Regions from separate parts of the Homo sapiens genome. Here region 1 is linked to region 2. Evidence: promoter capture Hi-C in 16 types of primary human blood cells and fetal thymus (Javierre and others, 2016). All regions are on one chromosome and are shown on one strand. Each heading gives the region's core, a stretch centred on a gene start or on the middle of the fragment in contact. The rest is flanking DNA. Distances are from core to core; before and after follow the strand shown. Region 1 has its middle 900 kb from the start of DAOA. Region 2 holds the start of ARGLU1 (arginine and glutamate rich 1).

Evidence for each region. The method cuts DNA at HindIII sites, captures the fragments that hold promoters and counts their contacts. A CHiCAGO score of 5 or more calls a contact.
Region 1: a fragment that was not itself captured here is called in contact with the fragment with the promoter of ARGLU1 in region 2 in 1 of 17 cell types (fetal thymus); the score reaches 5.4 in fetal thymus.

The regions. Positions count from the first base shown.
Region 1 is chr13:104,561,969-104,569,107 of GRCh38, forward strand. No RefSeq gene overlaps it. Among named protein-coding and RNA genes, the nearest start is that of DAOA, 900 kb to the right of the region's middle. The HindIII fragment of the contact is 1,283 bases long and covers 3,635-4,917 here.
Region 2 is chr13:106,562,433-106,569,879 of GRCh38, forward strand. ARGLU1 (arginine and glutamate rich 1) reads right to left here and starts at 5,705. Exons shown (of 4, transcript NM_018011.4): 1 at 5,141-5,705. The coding sequence starts at 5,487. RefSeq lists a silencer at 4,867-5,166 and enhancers at 5,061-5,971, 5,647-5,766, 5,777-5,846. The HindIII fragment of the contact is 1,462 bases long and covers 4,958-6,419 here.

The sequences.
Region 1 (7,139 bases), core at 3,026-5,525, 2.0 Mb before region 2:
CTTACCATGAAGTGAAAGAGTGAAAATAAATTTCAGTATTGGACCTAATGGTTAGTTGACAGGGCTTCACTTATAGACAACTTAGGTTAAAATCCTGGCTTTGTGTTGGCTATAGCTAGTGGATCTCTCTAAGCCTCAATTTCTTCATTTGTAAAAAGGTGATAATAAGATTGCCTGGTGCTGAAGTTTTTAATGCAGGACAATTGAGATGGTTCATGCCACATGCATAGGCTGGTATTTGACTTGTGATGCCTACTCAGTAATTTGAGGTGATATGATTGAGACTCGAGCAATATTAGATAATATTTTTAAATAGTGGCAATCATTTGCATCCTGAAAGAAGATGTACAGCTTATATAATGCTACATATTGCTTTTCTTTTCTTTTCTTTTTTTTTGAAGGAAAAATAAGAGGATAGTATGAGAAGCAAGGCTATTTCTCTTGGGATGGGAAATGACTCTGTGAATCCCTCTGCCCTCCTCTCTGGGAGGTCTCAGCAGTACAAATGGCTGCAACCAGTGACAGAGCCACTCATTTGGCCTTTACATCTTCTCTCCAGACTAAACCTCCTTGTTATATAATGATTTGCTCTTCACATGAATTTATCCATAAGCTAGTAAGAGGAATTTCTAATCTATCCTAAATCACTGTGAATATTATCTACTTATTTTCCTCTTGTAATTCATGAAAGAAGATGCTTAACTGATATAAGATCTCTCAGTAATAGGAATGCTGGATTTAAGTGTACCACTTTCTTCAAGCACTTAATCCATACTTAGCCAACTTTTACCATTAGGGAAGGACAAAGGCACAGGAAAGAGGAGTAGCGGTTCAATATGCCCTCAATATTTTCTCTTAAAAAAGAAAAAAAAAAAACAGAAAAAAAAGCCTTGTATTATAGGCCTCAGAATTAATACGTAGCATGCGTGTGTATGCCAAAGAGCATGATGATCTCATTAAGAATAATTTTTTCCATACTTATTTCACTATAGGCATCAATCTCTTTCTTTTCTGCTAGTACTTTTACAAATATGTTTTCTTAGAATGTAGTTTTTGTTGCTCAAGTGCTGCTTCTGTTTCACATTTTTGTAAAAGAGCTGTGATGGGAATTATATTTGAATTAACCCATTTTTACATCCAAATATTTTAGATAGAGAATAGCATGTTAAATAAATGTTGATATAAAATCTTCTTGGTGTGATACAGAAATAATGTGAAAAATACCATTGTATATAAAACCAAGTTTCTTTATCCTTGCAGTTTCTAATATAGACTCCTATGTATTATGAGATTCTTCTGGGCTTTTCTCTTTTTAAGGGCATCAAACTGGAAGGAAAAGATAAAGTAATGTAAAATTTAAGAACTTCATCCATAGCAGTGTGATTCTGTATTTAAAGGCATTTTACCAATTTAAAGTAAGTATTTAAGGGAATGTACAATTTGTACATAGATATTTTATAATTAAAAATTTGCATTTTTTCAGTATTAATAGTAATGCTTTTACTTGCATACATTTTTAATTTCAAAAAGTATTCCTAAGTGTGACTTAATTTTATCTCATAATAACTATGCAAGATGCCCAACACAAGTCTTATTATTTCTAATGTACATCAGTTTTCTAATGTCAACTCTTCACATTTTTTGATGTTTTAATTTCTGTTTGTGCCATCATCTTGATTCCTCAAACCATGCTTTGCTTTTTCTAACTGCCTCTCTTGGATGAGAGCTTTCAAAGGAACTCTGTTACATTTGGCTATTACACACTGCTGTAAATTGATACGTGTGGCTATGCTATTCACAGTCATGGTTCCCAGGGACAGGGACCCAGAGCCAGGTAAGTGCCCCGCTTCTGTTCCAACCTACTTACTTGGGGAGACAGAACCAGGTTCCACTGCACACAAGATGGGCGAGCTGGGCTATGTCACTCAGCCTCCCTGGGTATTCATTTCTTTTCTTTTTTTTTCTGAATATCCAACAGCAAGCAATGTGTATCCATTACTTATTTGAAAAATGTTGAAGTTAGAGAAAAAGAATCATCTTATAAATGCCACTAGTTTAAAATGCTGTGATTCCATAAAAGAGACAAAGCCCCACAATTAATGCACATCCAGATTGAGGCCGGAGCCCAGGTCTCTACATTTCCACTTATCTTCTCTGTACAACCTCTTCCTTGGCATTTGACACAGCACCAATTAAATGATGACATATAAAAAGGGAGCACAGTAGTGGGTTCCAACAGTGCTGAAAACAGTCACCTCGTCCAAAACTCTTGTGGCACCACCCAGAGCTCAGGGTAAGTGATACCAACCCCATGAAAGCTGCTGAAGGTGACAGAAATGGGACAAAGATTCGAATTTATTCTACTCTCTGACCATTCCTAATGGGAGGTCACCATACAGTAAGAGTGATGATAGTGTTCACAGCCATAGCCAAGCTGGGCTGATCCTCTGCTTATTTCTGCTTTGGTCATGTCTATTAGCGTCTCCTGTCTCAGCAGTTACCAACCATCTGTTGTTACTGAGCTCTGGCCTCAGAAAACAATCTCTTAAATACCTATACACTGTTAAAAAGTCTCACCACACATGGACTCACACACATGCTCACACACAGGCTCACACTCACACACACATGATCACACACAGGCTAACACTCATACTCACACAGGCTTACACACAGGCTCACAGACACACGTTCACACATACTCACAGGCTCAAATTTATACACAAACATGCTCACACACACCACACACAAGCTCACACACCCACATGCGTGCTCTCACACACACACATGCTCACACACAGGCACACAGGTTCACGCACATCCTCACAGACACGCATGCACACACAGGCTCACACACACAGGCTTACACACACACATGCTCACACACAGGATCACACAGGCTTGCACATGAGGTTACACTTGCACACTCACACACATGCTCATGGCCACATGGACCCATACTTGAACACACACACATGCTCACAGACTCACACAAAGGCTCACACTTACAGTCTCACACATGCTCACACACACAGGTTCATACAAGCTTGCACATGGGCTTACACCTACACACACATGCTCAAAGACACACACGCTCAAAGACACACACACAGGCTCACACTCATATGCTCACACACACACAGGCTCACAGTCACACACATATACAGAGTCACGGAGCACAGTGCTTTAGGGCAGTGGTCCCCAACGTTTTTGGCACCAGGGACCAGTTTCATGGAAGACAGTTTTTCCATCAGTGAGGAGGAATGGGAAGGGATGATTTCAAGATGAAACTGTTCCACCTCAGATCACTGGGCATTACATTCTCATAAGGAGCCCACAACCTATATTCCTCCCCTGCACAGTTCACAATAGGATTCCTGCTCCTATGAGAAGCTAATGCCCGCTGATCTGGCAGGAGGCCGAGCTCAGGCAGTCATGCTCACTTGCCCACTGCTCACCTCCTGCTGTGCGCCCCAGTTTCTAACAGGCCACAGACTGGTACTCGTCCACAGCCCAGGGGTTGGGAACCACTGCTTTAGGTGACATATATGACAATGTCTCTTCTTTGTAAACTAAAAGGAGGCCTCCTATGTGTTTTGATGCCCTGATCAAACTTAGTATTAAAAATTGCAAAAGCTTCTGGGAGAGCTGGATCACGCCTGTAATCCTAGCACTTTGGGAGGCCAAGGCGGGCGGATCACCTGAGGTCAGGAGTTTGAGACTAGCCTGACCAACATGGTGAAACCCCATCTCTACTAAAAATACAAAAATTAGCCAGGCATGGTGGTGGGTACCTGTAATCCCACCTACTCGGGAGGCTGAGGCAGGAGAATCACTTGCACCTGGGGGCGGAGGTTGTAGTGAGCCGAGATCGCGCCATTGCACTCCAGCCTGGGTGACAGAGCGAGACTCCGTCTAAAAACAAACAAACAAACAAACAAACAAACAAAAAACAAACAAAAAAAGCTCTAAGAGAAATAAGATTCTATTTTATACATAAATGCCTCTCTGTTCTGAACGACTGACAAATATTTTGTTTGCTTGACTTTTAATGGCTCAGGTAGGACTTAAATATTTGATGAACTCCATCAGTTTATAGCATATTTGTCAAATACAAACTCTGCACCTTGTTTAGGATTAAGGAAGAAATGTTTTGTTTGTTTATATCGGCAAGTTTTTGAATAGACTGCACACTGTCACTCTCCTCGTATTTAAATTGCTTATCTCAGGTTGCCAAATTCAGCATCTGAACTCCTGATTTGAGATCTCTCGTTCTCTTATTCTTTTGTGTTTTAAAAATAATGCTGTCACCTAATTCCTAGCCATATCTTTTCAGGGGATGTTGGAGTAAGCAAAAATGAATAATTTTTCCTATCTTTTAGATTTTTTTTCCTAAATGTGTGAAAAACCTTTTCTCTATCAAATAGTTTGTTTAAAAAGAAGAAAGAAACCAGTTGGCAGAAAATATATTGACAATTGCTTGCTAAAATATTTCAGGGTAAAAAAAATCATGAGATCTATCTAATTTTTATAAGTCACTGATTAGCTTTATGTGAGTTATACACCTTTTGGGGTGTGCAATCTAACTAAAAATTCTCCTGAGGCAGAGGAGGCGTTTCCAATTCCCTCTTTTTCATTATATCATAATACCTTTGCCTCCAGGTGTTAAAATTGTAATCATAGCCTACACAAAAATTGTCATTTAGAAATGTATTATGAACTGAAGAAAACATTCAACATATAAATTGATGAATATCGACGCTCCACCTAGATGTAGAAAATGACATGATTGGCATGAAGGGTACTTTGATTGAGAAAAATTAGGACTCTGTTAGGACGGAAGAAAACTTAGATGATTGTTGTTGGATAGGCCCTGAATAGCATTCACTAGTAAACCTGGTTGTCTTCCTTGATGAAAGCTTTTATGGTTTTGATGGGCAGAGCTATGATTCTTTTTCTTACTGTCACTTCACAGGGCTCCACATAGTGCCAGGCTGTGGAGGAAAAGGCCCTGAGTGAGCAAAGCTGATGGGCAGAGTGATCTTCCAGGCAGCAGTCTAGTCCCTGAAGTGAGAGGGGAATTAATGTAAAATTTGTCAAAAGTGGAATTTAAGGAAGTCAAAACAGCATAGCTGCATTAGTGAATGATTGGATTTGGGCAGATGGGGAGAAATGAAATGAGCCCACTCCTTGTCTTTTGATTGAGAGGGAGTGGTATCATCGTTGAGGAAGGAGATAGAGGCGAGGAAGCCAGTTGTGGAGAAGGGTGTGGAGAGAATGAATTCAGCTGCAGTGAGCTGAGCTGAGACATCATTGCAGCAGGTTGTTTTGATGGAGGTGATAAGACCAGACCCAGGCTGGGTAGGGTAGGGAGGGCATTCCTCAGGCACAAAGCTGACATCATCCACGATAGCTACAGAAACTAGGCTTGAGGGCATGTGTACGAAGGAGGAGAAAGGTACACTGAGGCCAGATTGACAAGACAAGAGAAGAGACAGTAACAATTAAAGATTTTTAAAAAGTATACTATATCTACCGTGGGCAATAATGAAAGGTTTTTAAGCCCTACACTTTTAATAGGGAAATTCTGGTAAATTAGCCAGGCAACGGTATGCAAAATCACATGATATGTTAAGAAAATAGTTATTTTTCCCCTACTATGTTTCAGACATTGCAGTAAGCACATGAATTAATAGTGAATAAGACAACAGAGGAAAGAATCTAGAGATAGGTGTGAGAGTTGGAAGTCTAGTGGGATATTTCAGGTTTAAGGATAAAAGACTTGATTTGAAGTTGCACTAGTAAAAAAGAGAAAGAGTGTTTTCATTTGTTTTGTCTTTTTGGTTTTGGTGTTTTGTTTTAGAAAGTAAACAGAATGTGACATATTGTTGAAAATAGGAAGTTGGAATGGGAAGTTTGTAAGCGATGGACATAGACTATGAAAGACTGGCTCTTGTGAAAATTATGGAAGCATGGACAGAAGCGGAGCAGGAGGGAGGGGCCTTTTGCCATGGGGAGTAAGTAAGAGAAATCTTTTTACTTTATTTTTTGCAACAACTCTAGAGATACTTTCACAAAGCTTTGCCTACATTTTCCCAGTTATTTTATTGTATGTCCTTGAGATTTTATCCATCACGATTCATCTAGAGCATGAAACTTTGAGATCTCTTGTGAGTTTTTCTTCCTATCCTACTTTAATGAGATCATTACAGTTGGACAGAAGAGGTGGAATATAGGTGGGTAGTTGTGTGATTAGGTGTACGCATCTGAGTGTATATTCTCTATGTTACTGTGAAAAAGAGACTCTACTTTTAAGGTGAACATTGGCGAGAAACTAGTTAAATTTTATTTGCAGTTAAAAGTAAGTTTATATTGGATAATGCTATTGCATTTCCCACAAAAATTAAAAGCATCAAAATGATACATCAACATCAATTTAAAGCAGGCCACGTGTCTAACTGTACAAGCCTGTTAAACTCTCAAACCTGCACCAACGTGTTATGTAGAGTTCCCTGGGCTTTTGATTTCTCGTCTTTGAAATGAGGAGGTTGGGACACATAATTTCTTAAATACCTTTTCATTTTTATTGATGTGTCTGATTATGTATAAAAAGTACTTACAGGGAAAATAATCAGTTTGATCTCCCTTGTAAAACAGGAATATGTTTTATAGAATCTTTCCCCATCTGAGAGAAGAGCAAACCATTTCCCATCAAGTCAATGTATAGGATTGTGTGTGTGTGTTGTGTGTTGCGTGTTTTGGGGTAGGTAGGGATGCCCTTTTATAGTTAATATAATAATAAATTGATTCTGTTTTAATTTGAAATATCTACAGTGTCTAAATTACCAAATCCTTAATTATCCAGTTACCAGCAATGACTTCCAAGTCCCATGGATTTAGATACATTTGAAATAAACCACCAGCTACCTCAAATCTTGGAAAAAAGCCCATTGCCCAGCTCAAAAATTACAAAACTTCCCAAATGTTTATATATGCAAGGTCACGTCTGTCTCAAAGTTTATCTTCAGCTGTTTTCTTCTGTTGCACCTTCCCTAGCACAGAACTCAAATTTACAGCTCAAAGACAGGAGAGGGAAATCTTTTAAAATTTATTTAAAAATGGAATACCCTCTCTATTAT
Region 2 (7,447 bases), core at 4,455-6,954:
GCACTGAACTTTCTTGAGTGGGTCAGTGTCTTGCAAAATAGGTATCATCTAACAGCCTATTCACTCCTCAAAACCCTTGCCATAGCAGTTGTCACCCTCATGATGTTCTTTTCTCTAATGTTTTCCTCATGCTCCTCTGCTGAATATCCATTTCCCTGCCAATAATATGTTATACTGACGAAAGCATTAAATCAAGATCTTCAAGGTTTTCAATGAAATGGTATAATACTAGGTCCTATTTTCTCTGTGCTCTCAGGTATTTTAAAAACACTAGTCAGGCTGGGCGCGGTGGCTCACGCCTGTAATCCCAGCACTTTGGGAGGCCCAGGCAGGTGGATCATGAGGTCAGGAGATCGAGACCATCCTGGCTAACACGGTGAAACCCCATCTCTACTAAAAATAAAAATAAATAAATAAATAAAAAATAAAAATTAGCTGGGTGTGGTGGCGGGTGCCTGCAGTCCCAGCTACTCGGGAGGCTGAGGCAGGAGAATGAGCTGAGATTGCGCCACTGCACCACTGCACTCCAGCCTGGGCGACAGAGCAAGACCCTGTCTCAAAAAAAAAAAAAAAAAACAAAAAAAAAAACCACTAGTCACACTGAACTTTAAAATGCTAACTATTAAAAACAAAACAGTAAGGCTACAGCACTTCGGCACTGTTACAGAGTAACTGGCACCATTATTTTAAAACATCTTTAAAATGTGGGAACTCAATCCTAGGGGTTTACTTCTAGGAATCGCTTAATAATTATTAGCAAACAGCATTTACTTATTACTTAATAGGTAACATATAATATTGTGCCAAAAGCTTTATATACCATGTCATCATTTAAATCACATAATTATTCCTATGCAGTGGGTATGTATCCCATTTTTACTGAGGAAACTAAGAACAAGGAGCTGAAGTTTCTAGACTCGAGCACACTGGATGTTGCTGAGCTGTTTCTCTGAACCTAAGTAGATGCCAAAGCTAACGATCTCAAGCAAGCACTATACTACCACCCTACACCGGTTTCTGCAGGACAAATAAGCAAGGCAAAGACAAGCACACAGATTTAACGACCAAAAAAAGGAAGAAAAAAGTATAGGCCAGGCACGGTGGCTCACATTTGTAATCCCAGCACTTTGGGAGGCTGAGGTAGAAGGATTACTTGAGGCCAGGAGTTCAAGATCAGCCTGGGAAACATAGTGACTCTGTCTCTACAAAAATAATAAATAAATAAATGAATACATATTCTTAACATCAGCTAGGTCTTATGCCTTAATGTTCTGTCAGAGCCTTAACCTCCAAAAATATGCGGTTCCATATAATCAATTTTCTCCTAAAAGCTCTTCTTTGCTCTCACAATGAACTGCCCAAGTATTCTAAGAATCACTTATATAGATCCCAGTTCAGTGTAGATACTCTAATTTAGAAGGCCCTTAATCCGTCATCCAGTTGAACACGGAGGATATTCGAACCTAGATATCACAGGCTAGAGTAAGTTACTATGCCATTAACATTTTCCTGATTTGCTGCAAGTTATTTTCAGTTGTCTATTTTTTCAACAGTTAATATAACATGCATGCAGCATCTCAAAAGAGCATTTAAGAAAATGGTGCTACTGGTGTGGGGGAGGGGTGAGAAGAACCACACTGAATGGCTGGGACGCAAGGATGAGAGGAAGATCTTTTGAACTGAATTTTGAACCATGTGAACTGCCTATTCAAAATTGAGGGCAAAAGTCTTTAAAAATGTAAAGGCCTACCTTCTCAGCATTAAGATGACAACTCATAAGATCACTTCTGAAATTCATCAGGCTCGGTCTGGCTCCATGTAAGTTAGTTACATTAAATAACATTACTTATTGAGAGCTATTACATGCCAAGTATCACCTACTTTAAATACATCATCTCCAATTTTCACAACAAGCAAGACAGATTATCTCCATTTCACAGATTTAAAAACAAGGTTAGAGGGAGGTGATTTATTCAGCAACTCAGAATTATAAGTGGTAAACCAATAAGGTTTCCAATCTTACCAAAGAATTCCTAATTAGTTAAACCCAATGGTTGATTCTTATTTTACGGTCTCTTTCCATCTAACTAGATTTCTTGTAAGGGCACTTGACACTATGCATTTTTACCATATTTCTTTCTGCTTCCACCATAGGCTCTTCTCCCTCTTCCTAACTGCAAATACAGGCATGTCCTAAGGTTCTTTCAGTCCCTTGAATGAACCGCTCTCCTCTCTCCACACTCTCCCTGGGTCATTCCATATACTCTCAAGGTTTCACGACATTCAGCGAAGCCCCTCTCAGCTAGGCTTCAGTCTCACATGATCAAGTCTGGATAAACTCAGTACAGTATATCCAAAACTAGTGCTCACAGTGAAGGCACCATTCTCTTATCCCCTTTCCCTCTCCCTTATCCACTATTTAAAAAGTTTCTGACATTTTTACCAGTACCTGCCACATGGTTGTTACTGAAACATTTGGTAGATGAGTTGCAACAGCCACACTATAAACATGAGAACCAACATTCTTTTTCTGAAGTCCCACATTCCATTTAATATACCCTGAATGTTTCTTAAATCTGTCCCTCTTTTCCATTCCAACAACCATCCTCACTACTCCTGTGTAAACTTCTGTACCCACCTCTTAGTTTCCATCCTACACAACAATCAAAACAAAAAAGGCACCATGTCATTCACCTGCTTAAAATCCTTCCCGTTTCTAGGATGCAATCCAAGCTCTTTAATATGACATACAATAACCCTAACATGATTCCCAGCCTCTATTTACCTCTCCAGTCACTCCATGACTTAAATATTTATAGAACTTCGTGTTCTAAGTCAACAGTCACCTGATCATTCCACTTTTAAGACCATTTCCTCTATTTTGGCAGGAGTCGGGGGAGGAGGCTCTTTTCTGTGCTCCACATATGTCCTATACCTTGCCTGACATTGTCATATTCTTATATCCTCCACCCACACAGGATACTTCCTTTATACAGTTTATATTACTGTCACTAAATTTACTACACTGTATTATTGCCTATTTAATGATCTGTCTTTGAGCTAGATCAAGCTCTTGGAGAAGGGCCAATCATCTTTATATTAACAGTACCTAGCACAGTGCCTGGCACTTATTAAATGCTCAATAAACATCAGTTAAATGAATAAAATAACCAACAGGATATGTAGACTGCAAACTGTTTCCTTACACTGCCAAAGCTCCAACACTTAAGTCTTTCCATTGTTTCTTTTGCATTGTTTCCAAGACATTAGAATATATTAAATAAAATGCCTATTGTACGGCACCCAGGAATTTAGAGTACAGGTGGCTGCTAGTCCTGGTCCCTTCTCCCTCCTAAATACTATTGGCAGTTTGTGTCTTCTCTCAAACCAGAGAACCATATAGCTCCTCTATTTGCCGTATTTCATTCCTGAATTTCTTGTCTGCTATACATGCGAAACCTGCTAAATGCTTCTATTTATTCTTTGCATACCAAGTTTCTTTTCATTTTTCCTACATATCTTAGCTTTCTAGTGAAAGGCAAGTTATTACTCTTTGGAGGTCTCCTTTGTTTTCACATGTAGAAATTATCTCAGCAATGTCTTAGGTAACTTTTCATACATCCATCTGTTGATAGCTATTTGAGATCTTTACAGCTAAGGGCCTTGTTGCAGACCCAAAAGTTGTATTCTACAAAATCAAGGTTTAATTTGAAACGATTACTTGAACTTTGTTTTCATATGTATCACTGACAGTTCTAAGTACAGGAAAAATGAGTGTTGCATGTGTTTTAAAGGAGTGTTGGAAGCAAAACAGCTCCAGGTACAGCTTCCTCTGTAATATTAGTGCTCCAGTCCTACCTTTTAGTAACTTTGGTTTTAGAAACAAGCTGTGTGTGTGTGCTGGAAAATCTACCTAACACAAACCCAACTACAGAAAACTACAAACCACGCAGTCAATTCAGCACACATATACTCGCCTCGAGAAAATCATAAATTCAGTAACGTTCTTGCTTCATGAGCACTTTCTAAATATTCACTGAAGAACTGACCAAGTACGGCTGGTTCAATAGGGAGTTAGTAGGACTGTTCAAATCTACTTTTCAATGCGGTTTTTGGAAACTGAATACCCAGAGCATCAAAGTACGATGATCATAAAGCAAAACACACAACAAATCCCTAAATTTTAAAACCCAAAAATTCCTTTAGTTTGGGATTATTTATCCACATCTACTTTCATAGCCAGAAATACTTGAGAGCTGACATTTTCGGAAACACACTCTAACTCTAGTTTTCACTAAATATCCTTCATGGGAGCAACGCCAAAATAAAATCAACCCTTCAAGTGTCTTCTGAAGAAGCACAGTGTAAGGGAAACAACAAAACTGCACGTGTTTGCTACAGGAATAGAAAGCAAGTTAAAAAAGCGGTAGGCTTTGGGATGGTGATTACACAGGTGAATTCAAAGGTCAAAAAACTCATCGCACTGTACACTTAAGGTCTATGCTTTTTTTTTTTAACATCTCAAGGAAGGGGTGAGGGTGTAGGCTCAAGGGGAAAAAAGCAATCCCAACACCTTAACAACAGGAATACACTAAAGTGAAAATGCATTTTTCTGGCGGACCACCTAAAGTGTATGATTCCCGAGATTAGTTAAGTCCTGTCCCAAATTTGAGCTTCAATAGAATGCTTCTGGCCAGCTGTGATTCGCATCTCAAAGGTTAATTCCCTTCTCTCTCCTCCTCAAGCCGACCAGCAAACGCTCACCACCCTCCACATCTGCAGGCCGGCTCGCTCCCGGCCTCACAAGCCAACGCAGCTCTCCGACCTCACTCCGAACTCCACCCCTACTTCCGGGACACCACTCCTCTCTCGCGCCAAAATCGCCTTCTCTTAAACCCTTTCTGCTCAAGCCCTCGAATTTTCCATCCCGAACAACTTCTGGGTCTGTCCCACCCCAAGCTTTCCAAACGCCAAGCCTGCCCGCCCCGCCGCCGCCTCTCCGACCCGTTCCCGCGCCCGGTCCCCAGCCCCGGACCGTCCCCGCCATTCTCCCGGCCCGCACCGTCCCGCCCCGGCCCCACGCCCTCGCCCCGCGCCCTGCTCTCCGCACGCCCCGGTCCCTCCCCGCGCGGGCACTCACATTTTTCGCTGCCGCTCGAACTCCGCTTTCTTCTCCTCCTCCTCTCGCTTCTGCTTCTCGTCCAGGCTGCTGCGCTTGCTCACCGTGCGCCCGAAGATGTCGATGCGGTCGGGCGGGGACGAGGCGCGCTCCCGGTCCCGCTCGCGCCGGGACACGGCCGTGTTGGTGGAGCGCGAACGGGACCGCGACTCCCGCCGCCGGTTCCGTTTACTTTCCCGAGATTTGGAACGCTTCCGCACGCGCTCCTTGTCCCGGGATCGCGACCGGGACCGGCTGCGCTTCTTGTTGTGCTTGCTGCTCTTGGTGTGCTTGGAGCGGGACGAGCTCCGGCTCCGAGACCGGCCCATCCTTCCGGGAGACGCTCTAACCGCTCGCCTCAGGCCCCTCACGCGGCCAGTTCCCCTCGCCTCCGCCTTCGGACGCGGGCTGGCGGTTCTACCGAGGCCGGAGGAAAGAAAGGTGTCGGCCAACGGACTTTATGCCTTTTCCCGGCGTCTACAGCTGCCACGAAGGCCGCCTCCAACGAGAAACCCGTAGCGCCAGGCGCCCCTAAGATGGCAGCTGCGGCTGCACCGGCCGCCCTTCCCACAATGCCCTGCGCGAAACGTGCCGAAGCGTGGGCCCCGCCTCCTGACGATTTTTGCCGAAGGCAGGCGAGCGCTTCGGAGCGGACTCGTTTTTTTCCGCCAGTCTTGGCGGAAGCCTGAGACGCAATAGATGGAGACTCTCCTTTTCGCCTTGGCGTACTCTTTTTTTTTTTTTCCTCCCTGGTAAGATGCCAACGCCTGTTGAATGAATTAAGCACGTTTTAGTGGGATTTAAGTCCGGCCTCGCAGAAGTTGATTGATTGCATTATTTTCTAGGAGCTGGTCTTGTGGGGCAGCCCTAAAATGTATCTCCAAGTGACCCTGCACTCATCACTTGCTGCCTTGGACTTAGTTTCCTCATTCGTAGAATGGAGACACCACACTTTCTGAAGTGCTTATGAGACTTGCAGGAGGTAAGTAGGCAGCAGGTTTTGATGAATGTAACCTAATGCTTACTATAGGGCTTAATGTGCCTTCTAAATGCTTTAATGTATTAACAAGTGCTTAATTCTTACAATTCTGAATTAAGTACTACTATTATCCACGTTTCAGAGATGAGGACCCTGAGGTCCACAGAGGTTAAATAAGGGTCACACAACCAGTAGGTGACAGAGCAGGGACGTGAACCTAGATCATATTGTGCAAAGCCCTTGCACATAACCAGCAAGCCCTCCTCAACCCTAGCCACGAAAAGCTTCGTCCCTATGTGGCACAACAAACTGTGTCATTGTTAAGACCTAAAAGGAAAAGGCAATGTTAATATTTGCAGATGACAGGAACCCTTGAAAATCTAGGTGCCTCAATTTTAAAATTGAGTGCAATAATAAAGCTTAAGTAAGTAGAAGAAAAATTAGAATTATTTGAATAAGCAAAAACATATTAAAAATGAAATAATATTTCCTCCACAATGGCAACAGAAACCATAAAATACTTAGGGATAAACTTTAACAAGTTACACAATCTTTATTATAAACCTTTACTGAAAAGGCAGTAATAAGGCCCTAGTAAATGTAAAACATGCTGTATTCTTAGGTGAGTAGTCAGTATCAAAAATACTGTCAATTCTTCCCAAGTCAAATTACAAAATTAGTGCAATTCTCATGAGAGTCCCAAATTCTCTTGGGGATATGTGTTTTAGAACTAATTAATTTTAAGTTTTATATGGAAGATCACATAATTAATTATCAAGAAAACTTGGAAACAAAGAAGAGTAGTGTATTAGTCTGTGTTGACTGCTGTAACAAAATATCATAAACTAGGCAGCTTATGAACAACAAATTTATTTCTCACAGTTCTGAAAGTTGGAAATCCAGGATCCAGGTGCTAGCCAATCTGGTCGCTGGTGAGGACCCAGAGATTCACAGATGACTCACAGAAGGCACCTACTCACAGTGCCCTCACATGATAGAAGGGGAAAGCTAGCTCTCTGAGCTCTCTTTTAGTGGCACTTCTAGGGTCTGAAAGTTTGTGTTCCCTCAGATTCATATGTTGAAACCTAATCACCAGTGCAATAGTATTAAAAGGTGGGGCTTTGGGATATTGATTAGGTCATGAGGGCTCTAACCTCATAACTGGAATTAGTGCCTATCTCAGCCCATTTCCACTGCTATAACAGAATACTTTAGACTGAGTGATTTATAAATAATAGACATTATTTCTCAGAGTTCTGAAGGCTAAGAAGTCCAAGATAAAGGTACCAGCAGAGTCAGTGTCTGATAAG